6 separate regions of the Homo sapiens genome follow, and regions 1, 2, 4, 5 and 6 are each linked to region 3. Evidence: promoter capture Hi-C in 16 types of primary human blood cells and fetal thymus (Javierre and others, 2016). All regions are on one chromosome and are shown on one strand. The core of a region is centred on a gene start or on the middle of the fragment in contact, and the rest is flanking DNA. Distances in the headings are between cores, read along the strand shown.

What was found. The method cuts DNA at HindIII sites, captures the fragments that hold promoters and counts their contacts. A CHiCAGO score of 5 or more calls a contact.
Region 1: a contact is called between a fragment that was not itself captured here and the fragment with the promoter of GPRIN3 in region 3, in 2 of 17 cell types (total CD4 T cells and naive CD8 T cells). The highest score is 6.2, in total CD4 T cells.
Region 2: the fragment with the promoter of SNCA here is called in contact with the fragment with the promoter of GPRIN3 in region 3 in 14 of 17 cell types (fetal thymus, monocytes, total B cells and 11 more); the score reaches 16.1 in fetal thymus.
Region 4: a contact is called between a fragment that was not itself captured here and the fragment with the promoter of GPRIN3 in region 3, in 1 of 17 cell types (fetal thymus). The highest score is 6.4, in fetal thymus.
Region 5: a contact is called between a fragment that was not itself captured here and the fragment with the promoter of GPRIN3 in region 3, in 6 of 17 cell types (total CD4 T cells, monocytes, fetal thymus and 3 more). The highest score is 7.1, in total CD4 T cells.
Region 6: a fragment that was not itself captured here is called in contact with the fragment with the promoter of GPRIN3 in region 3 in 2 of 17 cell types (total CD4 T cells and naive CD4 T cells); the score reaches 6.1 in total CD4 T cells.

Annotation. Positions count from the first base shown.
Region 1 is chr4:89,928,565-89,932,089 of GRCh38, forward strand. All of the region lies in intron 5 of MMRN1 (multimerin 1), which reads left to right. Among named protein-coding and RNA genes, the nearest start is that of MMRN1, 35 kb to the left of the region's middle. The HindIII fragment of the contact is 393 bases long and covers 1,665-2,057 here.
Region 2 is chr4:89,835,014-89,838,670 of GRCh38, forward strand. It overlaps SNCA (synuclein alpha), which reads right to left and starts at 2,148. Exons shown (of 6, transcript NM_000345.4): 1 at 1,949-2,148; 2 at 534-679. The coding sequence starts at 654. SNCA-AS1 (SNCA antisense RNA 1) reads left to right here and starts at 1,388. Exons shown (of 4, transcript NR_045481.1): 1 at 1,388-1,721; 2 at 3,248-3,393. The HindIII fragment of the contact is 7,659 bases long and covers 1-3,657 here.
Region 3 is chr4:89,306,467-89,309,960 of GRCh38, forward strand. GPRIN3 (GPRIN family member 3) reads right to left here and starts at 1,334. Exons shown (of 2, transcript NM_198281.3): 1 at 1,149-1,334. RefSeq lists silencers at 1,284-1,333, 1,344-1,413. The HindIII fragment of the contact is 16,857 bases long and covers 1-3,494 here.
Region 4 is chr4:89,868,746-89,872,297 of GRCh38, forward strand. No RefSeq gene overlaps it. Among named protein-coding and RNA genes, the nearest start is that of MMRN1, 24 kb to the right of the region's middle. The HindIII fragment of the contact is 1,802 bases long and covers 575-2,376 here.
Region 5 is chr4:89,888,972-89,892,975 of GRCh38, forward strand. It overlaps a transcript of MMRN1 not described here. Among named protein-coding and RNA genes, the nearest start is that of MMRN1, 3.9 kb to the right of the region's middle. The HindIII fragment of the contact is 5,697 bases long and covers 1-4,004 here.
Region 6 is chr4:89,909,680-89,913,209 of GRCh38, forward strand. MMRN1 (multimerin 1) reads left to right here. Exons shown (of 8, transcript NM_007351.3): 3 at 2,265-2,371. Among named protein-coding and RNA genes, the nearest start is that of MMRN1, 17 kb to the left of the region's middle. The HindIII fragment of the contact is 2,318 bases long and covers 188-2,505 here.

The DNA of each region.
Region 1 (3,525 bases), core at 611-3,110, 620 kb after region 3:
AATCCATTTCCTGCTAATCCAAGATGCTGGCAGAATTCATTTTCTTGCAGTTGTAGGACTGAGGTCTCTGTTTTCTTGATGTCTGTAAACTGAGGCCCATTCCCAGCTTCTAGAAGCCACTGCATTTCTTGACTCATCATCCTCCATCTTTAAAGCCAGCTACATTGTGTTGAGTTCTCCCTGCATCTTTCTGACTATGTAACTCCGTTGGACCTACCTGGATAATCAGAAAAATCTCTCTATCTCAAGGTGCTTAACTTTAATCACAGTTGCCAAGTCCCTTTTGCCATGTAAGGTACATATTCATGGATACAGGGAATTAGCATATGGACACCTTGGGGGAAAGGGGTGTGTATTATTCTGCCTACCACAGAGATTTATGTATAGTGAGTAATTGTTATGATAGTGTTATACACAGGATACAATGGGACCACTTGACACTTGCAACAAATCCAATCTAAGGGGACCAGGGAAAGCGTCTAGAAAGAGAAACCATCTCAATTGATGTTAACCATGCAGAAAGGTTTCGGGTAGGGCAAGGATGTTCTAGGCATGCAGTTAGTTTGATTCCTGGGAGCGTCCCAGTCGGGTTTATTGTATGAAACTTGTCTGTTTGCAAGTTTCAGGATTACTGTTTTTTTTCCTTTTGCTTTATTCATTAAAAAACTCAGTGTACAACCCAATTTTTATCATTCACAAGTTATCTTTTCTCTATTGATTTAAAAAAGATAAATAGGTGGATATTTAATATATCATCTACCAGTATGGATGCTTACATAGCTCAACAACAATTATGTTTTTTAATCATATAAATAATTGCTGCTACTCAACCACTAAAAGAAAGACCCTGTCCTACATATCTGGTATGGCCCAACCTTACCAATGCTGAGCATGAGAAGGAAACATTTTTCCCCCCTGAAGTGACAGCATGAGAAAGAAGTCAAATAGAAACAGTATGTAATTGACTATAACCATCTGAATGAGATTTGTTTAGCAAGATTTGGTTCTCATGACCTAACAGAATTAGCCTGTCAACTGTTTTTTTGTGACCTACCAGCCTACTACAAAGATTCTGGCACTGACACAGGAGAAAAATCACACACTCACAGCAACAGCATTAATAATGAAACTCCCTCCGCAATAGGAGGAATTAATTGTGTACTGAGCACAGTCATTAATTATAAGAACCAGAGGGCTTGTAGTTAATGAATATTCTTACAGGAAACAAAAACTAAACCCACCTCCAAGGTGCTGTGCTTGCCTAGCGAAACCACAGCTTCCTCCCTAGTTTACTTTACATCCAAGGTGAAAAACACTGCGTAATCTGACAGTAGCCATAGAAACTGTTGAAAATCAAATGTCTCAACTCCGTAAGAGGAGGTGGATACCTTAAGAGGTACCTAAATGTTATTAAAAGGCCATACATTCACAATTACAGAAGGTGAATGCTAAGGTATCTGATATCAAATATATCTGGTAAGTCACCAAATGTAATATGCTTCTAAGAAAGTGGAAGCATATGAGTCACAGGAAACAGAAACAAACAGAATTAAAATGATGTGCCCACTCAACTATTAACATAAAGCACTTTGACATGTTCTTGGGAAATCAGATTCTTGTACAGATGCTTGTTTAGTAACAAATTGTAGAAATGTTACCTGAAAAGCTTCTGATCCCAAAACACATTTTTAAGCTAATAATATGTTTAATATCTTTTCAGACATTGCTGTGATTTTGCACTTTCTTCAAAGTATTTTTCCATAAAAGTGTTAAAGTGTAACAGCTAAAGTAATTTACATTACTCATTTTCATTGTTTTTTCTCCCAATTATGTTGATCAAGATTTTGTGCTGAGTTTTTGCTTATTGTTTTTCTTATTAGGACTTTTAGGCATGTAGTTTTTTGTTTGCTGAAGTTAAACATTTATTGTCATTGTCCACAACTAATAAATTCAATAAAGCCTAAATTTTATTGTACCTTTCAATCTTGAAAAACTGTAAGATTATAAATTTAAAGAAGGTCGAATCTGAACCTTAAATATTTTATTATATTTCATCAAGCTTTTGATGTCATGAGAATTAGAGTCATTTTTAACTAATGGGAAATGACTAAATGTTCTTATAGAAAGAGTAATATTAATATTACTATTGAATAGTACCTTACACTCAATGATACTTACATATTCTTTTTTGTAAGACCAGAAATCGAATTTTCTAAATTTTACTTACTCTATATAGCATATAGAATGTATTTCATCAATATTTATTGAATAAATGGGTGACTGGTTAAATGCTAAGCAAAATGTAGAAGATAAAAATGCTTTAAAGCCTTTCTGGTGTGATTATCCATGTTATTTGATACAAAAGCTAGGACTATTTCTGTATAATTTATCTTAATTGTGGCTAGTTAGTCTTTTCTAATTCATTTAGCCTTTCCTTAGTACTTTAAGGCTGTGTGTCATATTGATTACTATTCTATATTTCATGTTTTGTTTTCTTTTTTCCATTACATACAAATTGATCTTTGGACTTTTAAACTTACTTTAGTTTCCACTAAGTTTATAAAAAGTAAAATAAAATATCTTTCCCATTTTATTTTCATCTGGCAACATGGATCTTTAGGGTGCAGGATTTCCAGAGAAATGTTTATCCATCTAAATTTTCATATTTACAGCTTCGTTTTTGTACAAAATTGTCAATATCAAGATGCTCAAACAATACATCATTCTATTTTTAATAATCACTCTTTCACATATTTTTATGTAAGTCCCTCATGTATGTTAAAAACTTACTTACAAAATGGAGACATGTGGAGCCTATTTTTTTAATCCTAGGATGATCTTTCTTTAATAGACTACATAGTAGCTATAATTGATGGCAATATCCCATTGTACAGACTTTCCTGTCTAAAATGCTTTGCATTGTATTGTGTGTATTTTACATTATAGTCATTGATTATTGTGTTAGTCCATTTTCATATTGCTATTAAAAAAACCTGAGACAGGGTAATTTATATAGAAAAAGAGGTTTGATGGACTCACAGTTCCACATGGCTGGGGAGGCCTCACAATCAAGGCAGAAGATGAAGAAGGAGCAAAGCCACGTCTTACATGGTGGCAGGCAAGAGAGCATGTGCAGGGGAACTGCCCTTTATAAAACCATCAGATCTTGTGAGACTTATTCACTATCATGAGAACAGCATGGGAAAAATCCCTCCCCATGATTCAATTTATCTCCCACTGGGTCCCTCCCACAATGCATGGGTATTATGGAAGCTACAATTCAAAATGAGATTTGGGTCAGGACAATGCCAAACCATATTATTTCACCCCGGCCCCTTCCAAATCTCATGTCCTCACATTTCAAAACCAATCATGCCTTCCCAACAGTCCCCCAAAGTCTTCATTCATTTCAGCATTAACTCAAGAGTCCACAGTCTGAAATCTCATCTGAGACAAGGCAAGTCCCTTCTGTCTATGAACCTGTAAAATCAAAAGCAAATTAGTTACTTCCTAGATATAATGCAG
Region 2 (3,657 bases), core at 898-3,397, 530 kb after region 3:
AGACCAAATGATCACATGAAGTAACTCTATCAAAGACTAATCTGTTCTTTCCATTTTAGGGCCACAAATAGGTCTCTTTATACACATCACAGGGGCATATCAAAGTCATATTTTAAAAATCAGAATGGATTAAAATTGACAAACATTTTTCATGATGGTAAAAGAAATCACAGATCCATCAATGATTTTGATTCTTAAGAATATTCTTGATTATTTTTTAAAAGACTATGAGTTTTTAAAACTGTTCTCTGAAATAGAATTATGTAGGTACAGAAACATTCATTTTTAAAAAGTCATAAATATTAGGGCAAAATTAAAAATCTGGAAAAGCAAACAGTCGCATTTTTTACTATTAGCTCAAATACACACGTTCACATTCACCTACCTACACATACCTCTGACTCAGTCCACCTTTTTGACAAGCAATGATGCAAAAATGAATCAAGAGAGAGAACTACCAGCATTTAGAGTATTGATTATCCTAACCCATCACTCATGAACAAGCACCAAACTGACATTTGGGGTTTACCTACCTACATAGAGAACACCCTCTTTTGTCTTTCCTGCTGCTTCTGCCACACCCTGTTTGGTTTTCTCAGCAGCAGCCACAACTCCCTCCTTGGCCTTTGAAAGTCCTTTCATGAATACATCCATGGCTAATGAATTCCTTTACACCACACTGGAAAACATAAAATACACTTTGAATGAGAACTTTCGGGGAAAAATAAACAAAAAACACTGAAAAATCATGAGAAACCCTCCAAAGTGTGAGACTCTTTTAAGTGTACACTCATTTAACCATTGGACAAAGCAGACATTTTTAGCTCTGGCATTAAAAATTTAGCATCTCCCATCCATCTTGGCTAGTAAAAGTCTAGCCACCTAACCACGGATTAGGATGAATCCTCTGAGTTGTTATTACTGCATTTCAGAAGTGGAGTTGCATGAAAAGATTAACCCCTTTTTTAAATTCCCGGGGTCTAAAGGGTAACAGTATGAGTTAGAAGCATGGAAGCTGGAGGCTTAGGGTCAGGGGTATCCTTAACATGAATCCCAGAAGAAGGCTAACAGGTTGATGGTGGAAAGGCGTAGGCAACAGAACTAACTGCTCACTCGGGGTGTGGTTCAAACTCAGGCAAACAGCAGGCCCAAGTGTGATGGTTCTAATCCATCCAACATCCACCCCCGCCCTCAGCTATCTACCCTGAGCAGGCGCCGCTCACACTCGCGGGCCGTCTCCAACCCCGCGCCAGCCACCCGAGGGGGCGTTCTCAGCCTCCACCCTAGCGGACCCCGCGCCAGCACTTGTTAACCCGTTACCACCTGTTGACTTGGCCTCCTTGCACTTCCATTTCATTATTTGCCAAACGCAGCTTGCTTACTTTACAGAGAAAAACCAAGAGAGCGGGCAGACAGATTTTATGTGAGAGAAAAGTTGGATGCTCACGCTCCATGGAGCATCCTCGCGTTTCCCGGGGAAAAGCGGATCCCGGAGAAGCAGCCTAATCTCTCAGCCCTTGTGGAGAAGGGAATATCAGAAGCAGGACGAAAGCCAGGTCAAGTCTCTTTCCTTAGGCTCCCCAAAGGGACAAGTACTCACCTCCCAGAGACCTGGCCCAGCGGGTCCTCATGGCAGCACCACCCCCTCCCGGTGCCCACGACCATTCGTCTCCCATCCGGCGTTCTCCAGGATTTCCAAAGACGCCCGTTTAGATCCACAGGTACTTACCTGAGTCCCTCTGCTTCTCCACAACTCCGACTCCTCCCCGCCTCTCTCTTTTTTTAAAAAAAAAATTTAAACAATTCCCAAATAATATTTAATAGGAAAGAAGAAGGAAAAGGAGCGCACAGGAAGGGCGGAGGCGGCACCCGGGGGGGACTGTCCCCAGAGGAGGCCGCTGTGAGCCGGCGACGCGAGGCTGGGGGAGTGGGAGGCAAACCCGCTAACCTGTCGTCGAATGGCCACTCCCAGTTCTCCGCTCACGAGGGTGGAAAGGCAGAAGGCTTGAAGGCAAGGCGTGAGGGAGCGCCCAGGACGCTCTCGGAGGGGCCGGGCCGGGGTCTGCGCTGCAGCCCGCACGCACCTCACTTCCGCGTCGCGGCGCTCGGTCGCTCGCCCCCTCTCTTGGGCCCCTTCTGGTCGTCGCCGTCCTCCTCCTCCTAGTCCTCCTCCTTCTCCTTCTCCTCGGCTCTCCGCCCCCACCGCTGATTTGTCAGCGCTTCTGCCCGCCCCTCTCCCGGCGCTCGCTGCTTTCCCTGCAGCGTGCTCCTCGTCCCTATCTCGGATGGGGATGGGGCAGGGGGCGCGGGGTGAGCCATCAACTCCAGCCGCCTGCCTGGCCGCGCAAGGCGGGAAAGTGGGGGCGCTTTTGCGCCTCACGTTAAGTTTAGGGTCACGAGCACTCTTGTGGAGATCGGGAGCGGTTGGGCTAGGGATGATGCCTCTTCCTCTTTCCCCTTCCCCTCCCTTCTTGTCCCCGCCTTTCCTCTGGGTCCTCCCGGGGACCACCCCCTACCCCTCGTCAGAGTCGCCCTGGGAGAGCCGAGGGCCTGAGGGTCGACCACCAAGGGCAGAGCCTATCCCTTGGGGAGCTGCTGGAGGAGACAGGCAGCGCCGGGAGGTGGCTCACACCGCACCGCCGAGAGCGCTTTGCCCTCGCATCGCTGAAATTTAATCACGGTCACAGGTTACAACGTTAGGGGTCGCTTTAGTTCAAATATCTTCAAGGTTTTCGTTTGCTCTTAATCTAGGAAGAGCCGGAAAGGGTCCTGAGGGTGAAAGGGAGACTACTAAGGAAGAGTCACAGGTTGAGGAGGCAGGAGAAGGCTCAGCAAATCCTCTTTCCACGCCACTATCACCATTTTCCTTTCCACCAATCAGCGCCTGCCAGACGCTGATTTTCCCATCAGTGGAACAAGGAATAAATATTCCCCAGCCGTCTAAAACAAGCGGTCCTAAGGCTTTTCGCTCTAGAAATGGGACTTACTTTGCAGACCTCCCTTTATCTGGGAGACAAATCCAGCGTGATTTAGCCTACCGGACCATCATATCCAATTTCTTCTTCAGCCCCTTCTGAAAGGGAGATGCTACACACCACTCACCTTTCTGACTTCTGATTCTCGTTGCCCTCAGAATTGACACCCCCTTTTCTCTCCCCCCACCCACCACACGCACATGCACACAGACATACACACGCGAACTTCAAGACAATTTTTGCATCGCTTAACACATTTTCACCTCTTTCAGAGCTGGAAGACAGCTGTTCCTGGATCACACCAGAATGGAGAAGCAAGCTCCTCCCACTAGCAGAAAGCCTTTGCTTTCTGTGCCTGGATTCGGAAGATTAGTTAAGCACTGGAAGAGGAGGGGGGAAACAACAACTCGTTTTTGCTGTATGTTTTTTTTTTAATTGTTTTTATATTTATAGAAAGTTATGCTTTGTCTGATTCTTGCGCTAATTTGGGTTCTGAAATTTGAGTAAAATCAAATTTAAACATACAAAACAACTTTAAAACCACAAGGAACAGGAAGCAAATGATTATACATAAAAGACATATAGAAGATAATGCATATGTGTTCAGTGGAAAATAGAAAAGCATGAAAGTAAGATCACAAATATTTATTATTTAAACTCTTCCTTGAACTATTGGTCTGCC
Region 3 (3,494 bases), core at 84-2,583:
CTTCAGTTTCTTCTAGTCCCACCATGACCCAGATACCTTGCAAAAACAAAATAAAAACATAGTCCAATGGATCTTTAAACAAATGTGTTGTGAAAATATTTAGATGGAGCATACCCAAGTACCGCTTTAACCAAGAGGAAGAAGACACCTTACTCAAAGGTGGGTGCTTCTTGAGTGACTGCTCAGAGCTCTGTTTCTCCCCTCCCCCTCCAAGCCCTTGCCTTTTGCCCACCTCCTCGGCTGCTTTGTGGACATTCACATCGTCTTAACCTTGAACTGCCTACACCCCAAGCGGTGATTTCTCCCAATGGCCCTCCAGAAAGCCCTTGAAACCTGGTCTGGATTCGATGCCTTCCCATCACCCAAAATTCACTTCCCAGTGGCATATTAAGTACCTCTCCTTTTTTCCCTCTTTCACTGTCCATTATTGCGTCTGAAATGATGCCTACATCGTTTCCATCTGCCTGGAGAGCATGAAGATCTTCTGTGTGTGTTGGCTGACAGGCTCCTTCAGACCTCTTCTAAAGCCCATCTTGAAAGAACCGTTTATCACCTCTAGTCTCTACCCTGATTTAATGTGGTTCCAAAGTTCGCCTCTATTAGTGAACATGTCTCTACAACGATTTCCCTTTATCAACCCCTGCCCGCCCTTCCTCTTCTTTCTGCCTACCTCAAGAAAACCTATTTACATATGCATTTATGTATGTGTGTGTATATACACACACATACATACATCCATATGTAATATATATTTCTATGTTTTGACCTTAAAGGGGATAAGCATAGGAAAATGAGACAAATGTCACACACACACACACACACACACACACACCCCTCATATTCGGATATTCGCAGTGTGCAGACCCGATTGATTATAAATTTCCCTGCCCACGATCAGCAGGCGTCTTCTCCCATTTACCTTCAAAGCCAGAGCCAAAGAGAGCAATGACCTTGCAGAGAAATTCATCACCTGCGAGAAAGACTGCCCCTCCTAGAGCGCAGGATGGGACAGAGACAAGAGCAACAGGCAAAGGATCCCTGTGCAAAATGTGGGACCGAATCCCTTCCGCATCCCTACAGAGCACACCACCAGGCTCCGGTCCCCCGCGCTGGCCGCCAGGCGGAGGTGCGCAGGGGGCGTCTCCTACCTGCTCTGCCCGGCTCCGCGGCGCGGCGGGGCCACTGCCTGCGCTGTGGCGGGGGCTTCCCGTCGCATATCCCAAGCACCGTCTCTCGGCGCCACACCGATGGCTCCGGCGGGCCCGCGAGCTGAGGTCCTTCTCAGCCCGGTCCCGGAGCGAGCTCCGTGCGTTCAGGAACTGAAATTACTATGCCAAGAGCAGAGGCGGCGCGCAGCAGTCGGGCGTAGACCGAGGGGGCTGCCCCCACCGCGGGGCTGCAGACGCCGCCGCCGCCCCCGCCGGGCGCAGAGCCAGTTTGGAGGTGAGAGTTCACTTGCCCGACTGTTCATCCGTCAGGCCCGGGGTGTACCCATCTGTCCAGCGCTGCCCAGCCTGAGCATCCGAGAGAGGGGCGACAGCTTTGCAGGCGGCGGCGGCGGCAGCAGCAGCGGCGGCAGCAGGAGGCCGAGCTCCGCCCCCTCCAAACCCCCTCCCCCGCCTTCCCGGTCCTGGGGGAAAGTGTTGCAGCCCAGGCTGCTGAGCGCCGGGCCGGGAGCTAGGAGGGGTCTGGTGGGTTGTGGTTCTGCACCCCTGGAGACCAGAGACAGATGGAAAGTTAAGAAGGGATTAAGGAAGAGGGCTGGGGACCCAGAGCGATTTAGCAGGCATTCTGGCCCTTGCTCCCTCCCACAGGTCACCAGACTCCATGGCTGAGTCTAGACTCTAGCAGAAGGTTTCCAATAAAGCCACGTGCAGTGGAGATCTGAAAGCAAGATCATCCGATAAGTAATATGTTTTGCAAAATGTACAGTATCCTGCGTATTCGGAGAGGCACTGCTGACAGTGTTCCTGTCCCCATCCCCTTCCCGCTACCCCATGGGCTTGGAGGGCTTTGAGGGCTTTGGAAATCTTCCCTGTTGAGCAGCTCCAGAATCCTGAATGGATGTGTAGTATGGTTAGCAGCTGTAGATGGTGCAAAATGATACGATGAAAAGAGCTTCATTATTAACTGGGTATTTGTTGGAAGGCTCTGTGAAAAATGCCTTACATACAGCCTCAGCCTCTTTAATTCTTACTACAACCCATTGAGGTGCCTTACCATGTGGACGAGGAAACAGGCTTATATGATCTAAACACTTTGCTTGAGGTCACACAGTAGTAACCTGCTCAGCTGGGATTCAAACCAATCCAAAATATATCCTCTCATCTAGTACACAGGACTCACCTAGGGGGTCTTGTTAAAATGCTGATTGTGATCCAATAGGTCTGGGGTAGGGACTGAGGAAACGCTTTTTTAGTTTTTTGTTGTTGTTGTTTTTTGTTTTTTGCTTCGTCTCCTAGGCTGGAGTGCAGTGGCGCGCTCTCGGCTCACTGCAAGCTCCGCTTCCCGGGGTCAAGCGATTCTCCTGCCTCAGCCTCCCAAGTAGCTGGGATTACAGGCGCCCACCACCACGCCCGGCTAATTTTTGTATTTTTAGTAGAGACAGGGTTTCTCCACGTTGGCCAGGCTGGTCTGGAACACCTGACCTCAGGTGATCCGCCCGCCTCGGCCTCCCAAAGTGCTGGAATTACAGGCGTGAGCCATGCCTGGCCCAGGATAGGCATTTCTAACAAGCTCCCAGGTAATGCCCATGCTACTGGCCAAAAGATCAAACTTTGCGGCACTATTCACAATAGCAAAGACTTGCAACCAACCCAAATGTCCGTCAATGATAGACTGGATTAGGAAAATGTGGCACATGTATACCATGGAATACTATGCAGCCACAAAAAAGGATGAGTTCATGTCCTTTGTAGGGACATGGATGAAGCTGGAAACCATCATTCTTAGCAAACTATCACAAGAACAAAAAAACAAACACCGCATGTTCTCACTCATAGATGGGAATTGAACAATGAGAACACATGGACATAGGAAGGGGAACATCACACACCGGGGCCTGTTGTGGGGTTGGGGGAGGGGGGAGAGATAGTATTAGCAGATATACCTAATGTAAATGAGAAGTTAATGAGTGCAGCACACCAACATGGCACATGTATACATATGTAACAAACCTGCACGTTGTGCACATGTACTCTAGAACTTAAAGTATTAAAAAAAAAAAAAAAAGATCAAACTTTCTAAGCCCCTAGATCAGGGATTTTAAATAAGTTTCTTCTTTTATGCCAGGTGTAGTTAATTGATAGCTGCTTCCTGAAGGTGGGTTAAGAAGGATTCTCTGGCTCTGTCTGGGTTCTCCGGCTAGCCATGTTCATTTTGGTTGAAGACGAAGGGAGCTGGGTCATCTTCCCTACACTAGGCCGCTTCTAAAAGGACATCTTTATGACAGGAGTGGTTGTGGCATAATATTTATGTCATCATAGTATTCATAT
Region 4 (3,552 bases), core at 226-2,725, 560 kb after region 3:
CATTTTAAGTTCTATGTGACTGTCAGATATTGGGCTTCCCAGAGGCTACTCAGTTCTAGTGTAGTCCAGGTCAGCCTCTTCCCTCACAGAACATCCTTATCTCTACTGATGCTCAGAAGAGAATATCCTAGTTGTAAAGTGGAGAATTCAGTTGCTATTGGTGTAAATCAATTATGAGCATTGATTTCATTTGTTTTGATGTTAATACTTCTAAAATTTGATCAAACAGCTTTTTAACTACCATCAAGTGTTAATTTTGAAAAAGCAGTATTTTATTCAAGATCCTACAAATATTGTTCTTCAAGATTGAATGCCAGTAAAGGCTGTAATTCTATAATTTGATCTACTTGTGTTTCTGAAGCTAAGACAGTTATTATGACTTTCTTTAATTTTAAAAAAGGGAGAAAAATAGAAAAAATTTTTAGTAAATCTAGAATTTGATAGTGCCATCTGTTGTTTAGAAACAAAATTGCATGCCCTTAAAAGCTACAATTTCTTTCTCTACTAATTTTCAAGAAAAGGTTAAGACTAATTTTGTCCATGTTCTCAATTTATTCAAGAGAAAAAGTTACAAAGCTTTGTTCATGCTGTATTTCCACATACAAAGGCGTTTGTCATCTCTTTTATACTGATTAACATGTAGAATCTTGAAATTGTTATAAATATGACGTATTTGCCTAAAAATTAGCAACTATTAAAAATATGCCTAGTTCAGATTATGCTTTAAAATAATAAGTAAAATAATAGATATCAGAGATAAAGATACTTTCAGTTTTGAAAGATAATGCACCTTAATTTACATTCCATTGTTAAGATAAGAGTGGCTTTTAGTTCCAAATAATGAAGATAATTCTAGATTCACTAAAAAAATTTTCCTATTCTTCTTTCTTTTTTAATTAAAAAAAGTCATTCTTAGCCTCAGAAACACAAGTAGATTAAATTCAACTATGAGTAAACATGTGACTATGGCAACACATAAATATATATCTTACACTTGGAGGAATAAAATTAATATTTCAAAATATTTAACTTATGATAATGTGAATTTTATAATTTCTTCTCTTTAAATACACCTAATGTTTCAAATGTTTTATGTAATTAATCTTACAGATACAGGGAAAAGTAAAAGAATACCTTTATTAAGAAGAAGCAAGCCACACCCCCATCGCACGCCCTGGCAAGGGGGACAAGGGAACATTTCCCATTACATTTACAAGGAAAAAAGATAGTTCAAATTACACATGATTGGTTTTTGTGATCAATTTACTACTAAAAATTTTAAGTGTTTACTTCAGTGTTTAAAAAAACAATTCTATAATAGGCTTTGTAATTTCAAAGAAATATGTTGAACTTTATTTTATTTTTTTCATAATAAGCTAATATATTGCATATACACATTATTTATTGCTTCATCTCTGTCACTGTTTCTCCACAGTTTGTCAAACAGATTTGTTGGTATAATAAAATTGTTAACACACTAACAGATAAAAGGAAATTCAGGAAAGTTCTGAACAATTTAAGTTTGCAATGTTACAGAAGGATCCTTAGCCTGGGTTACATTTCAGACCACTTTCTTAATGCTGTTGTTCACAGAAGTAGTTTAACATTTCATAGTAGCTTATTTCAACTTAGTTTGAGGCAGTGTTTTCCAATGTTATTAAATTTACACGTGAAATTGTAAACTCCTTTTTAGAATTAGATTGTCCTCTGTAGTCATTCTAAGGGTAATTTTAAATTGTATGCTTTTGTAAAGTTCTTATACTTTACAATAAGTAGTATAATATTACTCGAAGGTAAGCAGTAATAAGTTAAAGATGGACACTATAAACCCTACAGAAACTAAAATGAGTCTATAAAGAGTTATAGCTAATAAGCCAACAAAGGAGAATCATAAGTAGTATCATAAAATATACTCTATTAATGCAAAAGAAGGTAGGAAAAGAAAAAAAGAGGAGAGGCAAAGAACGGTTAGGACAAATATAAGACAACAAGACAGGAGGCTTAAATTCAACATGTAACAATCACACTAAATGTAAAAGTCTAAACACTGCAATTAAAAAGCACGCAATATCAGGTTAGATAAAACAGTAAAACCCAACTACGTGCTGTCTACGGTAAATCCAATTTAAATATAAAAACATAATTAGGTTACAAGTAAAGAGATGGAATAAGATATTCTATGCGAACATTTATCATAGAAAGGTGGAATGGACATATTAAATATAAGACAATGCAGATTTCATATCAAAGACTATTACCAGTGATACAGAAGATGATTTCATAATGATAAAGTGTTCAATTAATGAAGAGGACATAATAATCTAAAATGTTTATGCACTGTATCAGTTTTGTTTTGTTGCATAACCAATTACCAGAAGCTTAATGTCTTTAGAAGACACCCATTTATCAGCTCACAGTTCTGTGGCTCAGAAGCCTCAACATAACATTTTCGATTCAGTTTCAAAAGGTAAAATCAATGTGGCAGCTAGACTGTATTCTAGTCTGGATTTCAGGAGCCTCTTCCAAGCCCGCATGCTGTGACAGAATTCAATTTCTTGCAGTTATAGAACTGAGGTCTCCATTCCTTCACTGGTTGTTAGCTGAAGGTCACTCAGCTCCTAGAGGTCAACTCTATTTTGCCACATGGCCCCCTCTGTTTTCAAAGCCAGGAACAAGGAATCCTTCTCACATGGAATTCTTCTAATACTTTGAATGTCTTTCACCAGAACCTTTGTCCCTTTTAAGGACTAACCTGATTAGGCCAGGTTCACTGAGGATAATCTCCAAGGATTATACAGGGCATGCACATCAGGGAGCAAGATCTTGGGGACCACCTTAGAATTCTGCCTATTCCAGGTATCTAATAACATGAAAATACAAGAAGCCAATACTAACAGAACTACGAAGAGTAATAGACAAATGTATGATTATAGTTACAGATTTCAACACACCTTAACAATATATGAAATAAGTGGACAGAAATTCAGTAAGGATATAAAAGACTTAAATAACACTATCAATCAACTTGATCTAATTGATATTTTTAGAACACTACACCTGATGTCAGCAGAATAAACAGTATTTTCAAATGTGTATTGGACATCTTACAAGATAGACCATATCCTGCACCAAAAAACAAGGCTCAAAAAATATTTTTAAATTCAACTCATACAATACATGTTCTCTGAACACAATGGAATTAAATTATAAATCTTATTTCATAGGATCATGTTGGTAGCCCACCAAAGTAGCCACAGAGGGAATATTTATACAGTGGAAATTGATCAGAACTGGTAAGTGATACACATCAGGCCTTCCCTCTCTCTGGCTATTTGTCACCTACGACAGGTTGCTAAAATTTTTCGAAGACATCATTGACGTTACTTACTAAGGAACTTTGTCTCAGCATCTAGGGATCATGAGTGGAGCCCCTTCAGTTTATATCTAACAAAACATAGGCCCAGTAACTTACCCCAAACACACTGCCAACTAGTCAAAAAGCAGTTTAGAAAACCAAAACAAGAGAGCTTTTTAAGTGACTAGTTATCTTCA
Region 5 (4,004 bases), core at 1,353-3,852, 580 kb after region 3:
TGTCTTACAATTTTTATTGTATGAGGCATTATGCTTAAAAGAATAATAAAGGCTATAGTAAATAATATTTACCTCAGAGAAGGACATTCTTATTCTGTTAGCCGTTTAGTGTAGGAGCTGAGTTATCCCAATTTGTAATTGAGCTAGGTCTAATATAAACCAAAATTGTTGTAGCATTAAGTTTTAACTCACCACGCTCTTAAAATACTTTGAGGACGTGATAAGGATTTTCCTTTCAACTAATTTTGAGATCTGAGCACAGGCAAAGCTCTGGAGAGCTCTTTATCCTTGACAATACAGAGAAAAAGCTCTCTGAACTGTGTGTGATACGAGGCCTAAAATTAAGACACAGAATTATGTGCCGTCTTGACATCTGAAACCAGAGGGCGTCGAGGGCCTTAACCCAAAAGTTTCCTTCCCCACTCTGCTCTTGTGGATAAGGTCCCCAGCCCAGTATCCACTGCCTTATCAAAGGGACCAGGCATAGTTCCTGCTTATCCCTGAGTAGTAGGTTTCAGTTCCCTGCCAGCCCACAGAATTATTCGAACAAGCCAGTCACATCCGCCTGTGGGAGCCAGGGGACACCTCATACTCTTGATATTACAAAGTCCGCCTTCTAGCATTGTTGATTGTTCACTGTATTCCCGAGTGCAGCCCTGGTGTGGCCCTGCGTGATGTGCTGTGCCCTCTTCCCCAGGGCTTTAGTTTATGTATAAACTGCTTCCAATCTCATCAATTCAACACTAGACATCATGTGTTCACCCATTCTTATAACCTTAGGGTGGGAATTCCTCCCTCACCAATGGGGTGAAGAGAGGATGATTAAAACACTACTTTACAATGAAAAATCTTCTTCTACTTGCAACGAAAAATCATTTTTAAAACAATCTCTAGTACATTCTCATTTCTTTCCAGACCCACCCCTGCATTTCTATACCTTGGAAGACATCTTTCCAACCTCTTGCCTTATCTCTAGCCTTTGGAGGACCTTTCCTCCAAAGTCACTCAGTGAAGACCTGCCATGCCTTGAAGCTACTGATTTTCATTCTTTTCTTTTCACTCAGCTTTTGGAGAGCCATGGCAGTGTACTCAGGCGAGGCTTCTTGATGAAGAAATTTCTGGCTCCTCTGTTGGCCTTCTCTGAGACTACCCCAACAGAAGAATGAGGGTTGGGACACCTTGTTATAACCTCATGAGGTGGAAGTTTAATTCTCCCTTCAGGCTTTGCTGGCAAGGGTGGGTTCTTTTGTCTTTTATTTTGCTTTTTTTTTTTTTTTTCCCCTGTGCTCTATGGTGGGAGTAGAGTGGTTATTTTCTAAAAACTTTCTCTTCTTTCCAGGCTGACAATTCTCTAGTCCTTGGCCTAAAGAGAGCTTTTATTGGGGCTTTTATTGTTTCTGCCCATTGGCGTTCCTAGTTTGCCAAATTCTCCAGTACCCAGAAATGAGGCAAAAGTAAACTTGGGAACTCAGTGCTTCATTGTTCCTTGGGTCACCTAGCCATTCTGCCTTCTTTTCTCCACTCTTCAGAGTCTTATTCTATTTTTTCTATATATAATGTCCATATTTTCAGATGTACTTAGCAGAAGGAATAGGGAGATATGTCTATTCCATATTTCCAGAAGTGGAAGTCACTAATGATAATCACTTGATAACCAGATACAGCTTTCCATTAAGAAAATGAAAATATGGTTATTTCTAAAATGATCAAAAGAAATGCGTTTTGAACTCTTTCACTTCAAGGGTACTGTTCTGCGTAAATGGGAAATATAAAATCAGCAATGACATGGTTTTGTGAACTATTCTTACATTCATTTTCTCATGAGGGGCATTTGGTCATCTTTATCAGTATGTTCCTTATGATCTTATAAAGTTAAAATTTTAATATTAGGACAAATATGTTGTTTTTTTTTCCTGATAAACTAATATGTTTCTCTCACTTAATATTAAGAATTATATAATTCATTAATTGTCCATCTTCCCTTTCCTGCCAGCCCACTCAAACCTAAATTTTCTTACTTCCAATTTATTTGCTTATCTTAAATTTTTCTAGCATCACTACTGCTTCATTATCTTTTATTCTACAACTCCCAGTCTTTGGTTTATTATTCTAATGTGGCTGTGACGGCTTCAAAATAAACCTTCTCATATTTATTTTGAGAATAGATAATATAGAAACAATGGGCTTTCTGAATTTTCTTTAGGAGTAACTTACAGGAGGCAATCTGACTGAATGGGTATTTCAGAAGACTTTTGAAGGTGTGTTCCCGGAACAAGTTCATTATATTTATTTAGATTACTTTTTTTTTCTTTTGTGTGGCTATAATAATGTGAAATAGAGCCCTCTTCAACCCATTTGTTATCACTATACATAGGAGTATGGTCATAGCTTCATCTATTCGTTCACTGATTCAACAAATATTTACCGAATACCTATTGAATCAGGATTGGGCATAAATATCTGTTCTAACAATTACTAATGTGTTACCCTAGGAAGTTATTTAACTTCTTTAAGTTTAACTTCCCATGAGTATAACAAGAATAGAATACTTACCTAACATGTTTGTAAGAATTAAATAATATGCCAAATTTAACTTACCTAGCACATCGACTCATCAAAATCATGCAGAAATCAGTTTCTCTTCTTCTCCAGCCCTTTTGCTGTATGTTGATAACCCCCTTTGTCCACATGTAAATTTGACAGGTTTTCAATATTTTTCAAACACCATTAAATTGAAAAAGCTCTAAAATTTGTTTTCTTCTATTATTTTTTGACAGATATGTCTTATGGAGGAAGGTAATAATGAAATCATATTTTGGATGTTTTAAACTATTTTAAGAAAATAGGAATTTCTCATGTGAAAAATGAAGAAAACAGCTGCTGAAAAATCCTATTAATCTGGTGGAAGTTAGCCCATACCCCCAACATTTTACAAAGAATAAGTCTTGCAGCTATAAAAATGCTTTGAATAGTACACAGCACCATCTACAGTGAACTCCTCAATCTAAGATTCTCTTTTAACTCACATTTATATTTTCTTTTAACTTAATAATCTTTTTTTGTTTTTTTTTCTTGTGGTTAGAAAATTAATTCATATGCATTATAAGGTGGAAAAGAACCAAACCCATTATCTCATCACCTACAGACAACCCATGTTGCAGTATATAGTGAATCCTATGTTTATGATACAATGAAAAATGACATAAAAATCTCCTGATAACTCATAATATAATAAATTTCATGATTTTTATCTTATAAAATATTCATGGTGAACAAATGGCAAGATGGTAAAACATAATTTAATATGAACAACCAAGTGGGAAATGGGAGGTATAGCAAAATGACAGGGTCCAGTTATACAAAACTGATGATATAGTTTAATCCAACAATAGTATTTTAGTATCTAGTATCTAGTATAATAGTATCTAGAAGAATGAGTAAACTGAGTACTCTTCAGCCAGTCATCTCAGCAATATTATTTTTCTTAATTGTTATTTAATGAGTATTAATTAGTCTCAGAAAGAAGAATTTGAGACAAGGTCTCTGACAATTTCTGGAGTATTTTATACCTCTAATTAAGGGCTGATCCATATACCCAAAATCACTAAATGAGCTTGAGATTCTCTGGGGAGTTAAAGTGCAAGATGGCTTAGTAGATCAATAGTGAGATACAGAACCTTTAGCCTTTTGATTTCAGGGTCCCTTGTAAGCTAGGATAGGGGTGAGCAAAAGTCATTATTGGTCAATACCTTATAAGTGGTTAAATGAATTGCTTAGCTTTGTTCAGTTTTTATTATCATTGGATAACTATTTGTTATCAGTTATAGATCCAATGGGTGACATTTTACCACTAAAGTTCACTTGCCAGACCAGGTTTGAACAGTCTTTCAAACTGTAGAAGAAAACAAAAAATCAGTGAATGTCATTATTTTGGCAGTTTTGTAAATCTTCAAGACAGTCCATTCATCTATTTTTACTAAAGCTAGGAAAATTGGTGTAAAATT
Region 6 (3,530 bases), core at 97-2,596, 600 kb after region 3:
CACTATTACTTTTACTCTATATCTGGTCAACAATCCTGTCCTTAATTGCTTATGAATTTCATGCACAGTTTTGAAGATTTATTATTTTCTCTTCATGCTAGGTCAGAAAGAAGTTTATAACTTGGTTCATATTCTAAAATTAGGAGAGCTTCTAGTTACAATTATGCATGGAAAAGCAGCTAGGTGAAGCTTTTCTTCTTGTGTCTATTGTAATTAGCCATGTCATTTGATTATCATTTTTTAAAAAAGTCTATGCTGTTGTCCTAAAAGATGGGGCTGAGTAATTGATAAATTATCTGAATTCATGTAGTCACCGTAGCTCAGCTGGGGGTGTTTCCAAAGAGCCTGCAATAAAAACTCCAATTGTTATTCAGGCCATGATGGCTAATGTTATGCAAATAGTCATACAAATAACTCAGGCAATGAATCTGACACATGGCAATCTGGAACAGTGCACAATAAGGATACATAAAATCAAGGTGTTTCTTAGTCCCTTGAGGAATAGCTAAGGTTCATGGTCCAGAGACCTAAGCACATCTTAGGGATTTGGGAGAGCTGAACTCTAGTTCTGTTTTCAGCCCTCACTCTCTTTGTGACAATTTCCTTGCCAATACGAGACACAAAGAATGCATTGCTAATTCTTTAGTAATAAAAAATTTACCACAGTAGCCCCTAGCATACTGCCCTTCTGGATTCAAGGTGAGCTCTTTTTATTTTTTTCTTTTCTTTAAACAAACCATAAGTATTTATCTTTATTCTCGAATCTTATCTTTTTTATGCCTTCTGAGTGGGTGCATTCATTCGCTATTTTTAATACTCGTGTCATAATTGCCACTTTTTCTTTTATTATGTCTGAGCTACATGCAACAGATATTCAGTTTGCCAAAGCAGGAACATTGACCCCAACAATAGTTCAACTAACTGCCTGAGCTCATCCTTACAAACTCTATATACAGTCCCTTTCCAAATTGCTTTGCTTCCTACTTAGCTTTAACTATGAGAGTGCAGATAGTATTTCACTAGACAGAATGATTTAGTGAAATAAATGAGGGTAAATGATTAGCATGCTTTTCAGATGGAAGGGATCTTGTAGCTCATTTTGCAACTGACAAATAGCCTCAGACATACTCGGTTACCTGTCATGTTATAGCAGAAACTGAAACGTAAGTCTCTAAAGGCCGGTCTGTTATAATGCTATTGCTCCACATGTTCACGGTTTACCCATGTAGGTGACTGTTGTCTCCATATAGTTGTACGTGGCAAACTCCAGGATAATAACAAGGGAGGCTAGCCCACATGACATGGGCTAAAATCACAGCTCTACCCCTTTTAGATATGGGACTTTGAGAGAGTTATTTCATCTCTCTGTTCTTTGGATTCCTCGTCAGGAAATGAGGATAATAATAATGCCTTCATCATAAACTAAAATGAAAATTAAGCAAGATAGTATGTACCCATTTTACAGACCCATTTGATAAATAGCAACTAAATATTAAAGTCACATGGGTAAGACTAATATGGCCAAATTGTACTTATGACTTACATTTACAAACACACAGAGCTCACAATTTAGTAGCAGTCACTATATTGATTGTTGTGTTGAACTGCTATAGTTTCCATATTTCTTTTCTGCTGTTCTATGGTTTCATCTTAAAAATAAAATTTCCTCATATTACATCCCTTCTCTCTCTCTGTCCTTCTCTCTCTCTCTCAGAGAAATACTATATGACAAAAATAGTAGGTAGCATAATTTCAAAACTTTGAAGATGAAAAATTCCATGGGAAAATGATAGTGGTTGTCATAATTTCAATTAGATCACGAATATCCAATTTGTTTCAAGTTGTTTGATACTGATCTGGAGGAAATACAGATCTTTTTAAATATAACAATATAGGAAATCATATGAATTGAAGTAGAATAAATTATCTCCATATAACTTTAAAATTGGAATGAAAATAAATTTTAACATTGATTTAGCAAGAAGTATTATCAAGAGAAAAGCTATAATATCTTTAGAAAGTCAATGGCAGGTATCAATTTAAAATACCAAATACCATAACTAGTAATGCTTTTTGTAATGTATTGAAAGAAACCTAAGTTAGGCAATAATATTGATGATGAATATTATGATTATAACAGCCGATACTAAATAAATGCTTGTTATATTGTAGGCATTGCCCCAAAAACTTTACATTTATTATTCCGGCTGATAATTTAATGTGAAACAAATAATCGATTTCCCTCCAATTGCTCAACTCTCTAGATCTCAGAAGATATCCAATCCTGTCTATAGGATGCAACATAAAATTGTCACCTCATTGGATTGGAGGTGCTGTCCTGGATACAGTGGGCCGAAATGTCAACTAAGAGGTACACTCTAATATTAATAATCACAATTCTGAACAATAAGAAACTGATTCTATTGAAGAAAAGAATAGCATTTCCCCTTTTGAACCAAGGTAAATTAACATGTAGCCAAACTCCTAGGACTGTTATACTTTCTAAGCTTTCTAACTTGGTAGCTTTTATAACACTCTGAAATCTCATAAGCTATTCTTTAACTTCTCCCCCCATTTTTATGTTGGATTTATATGATGAGCAAATGGAAATCTGATGAAAGATCTTACTTATTCTTAACAACAAGCTATAGAGGCATGCCTTATTAAAATATCAGGAATGCTAATTTTCAATTTTTAAATAAAGTGTTATTAGAAGTGACTCAATATAAAAATAAGACTACCATCTAGTTTTGTTCCAGTTCAGTTATTTGAAATAATGTGCATATGAATGAAATTTAGTATTAAAGGACATACAAGGTATGTCATGAATAATTCTCTCTTTTTCAAAATTCTAATGGAGCTATTTTTTTTTTTTCAGCTGAGGTTTTAAGGACTTTCTGGTGGCAAGGCTGATCAAACACATGGTAACCCGCTGTGGCCTAATATCCATGTGACTATTATTTTGCTTTTGGCTTTAAACAGGTTTCCTTTGAAAAATAAGATACAGCATCAGCATACATATTTTAAATGAATGAATATTACAAGAAAGGCCATTAGCAGTGGTGGGGAATTCAATCAACAGTATAAGAGACTGTGATTAAAAATTAATAAAACTGTGGAGAAACCGTTATGGCTCACATTAAGAAAAAGAAAATTATAATACAAAAGCTCTAGGAATCCTGCATTTTAGTTAGGGATATTATTTATGGTTTTACTAGCCTATACAATGAGAATCTACAGGCAAATTTCACCATAATGCTATTTGTTCTGGGTCTGGCCTGAATTTCAAAGATGTTATAAAAATTCAATTTATATTCAGACTACAGAATGAATATGTACTTCATTTATAACCAGGTAAAATAAACTTTTAAATAAAATATAATCTATGCTGAAAATATTTGGAAATAAGGAATTTAGCATATTTTAAAAAGACCCAAATATGGCCCTGATTTCTGATTTCCATGAAGTACACAAATATATACTCACAATGGTAAAACATATTTGTGTCTAGAATTGGTGAATTGTTAAAA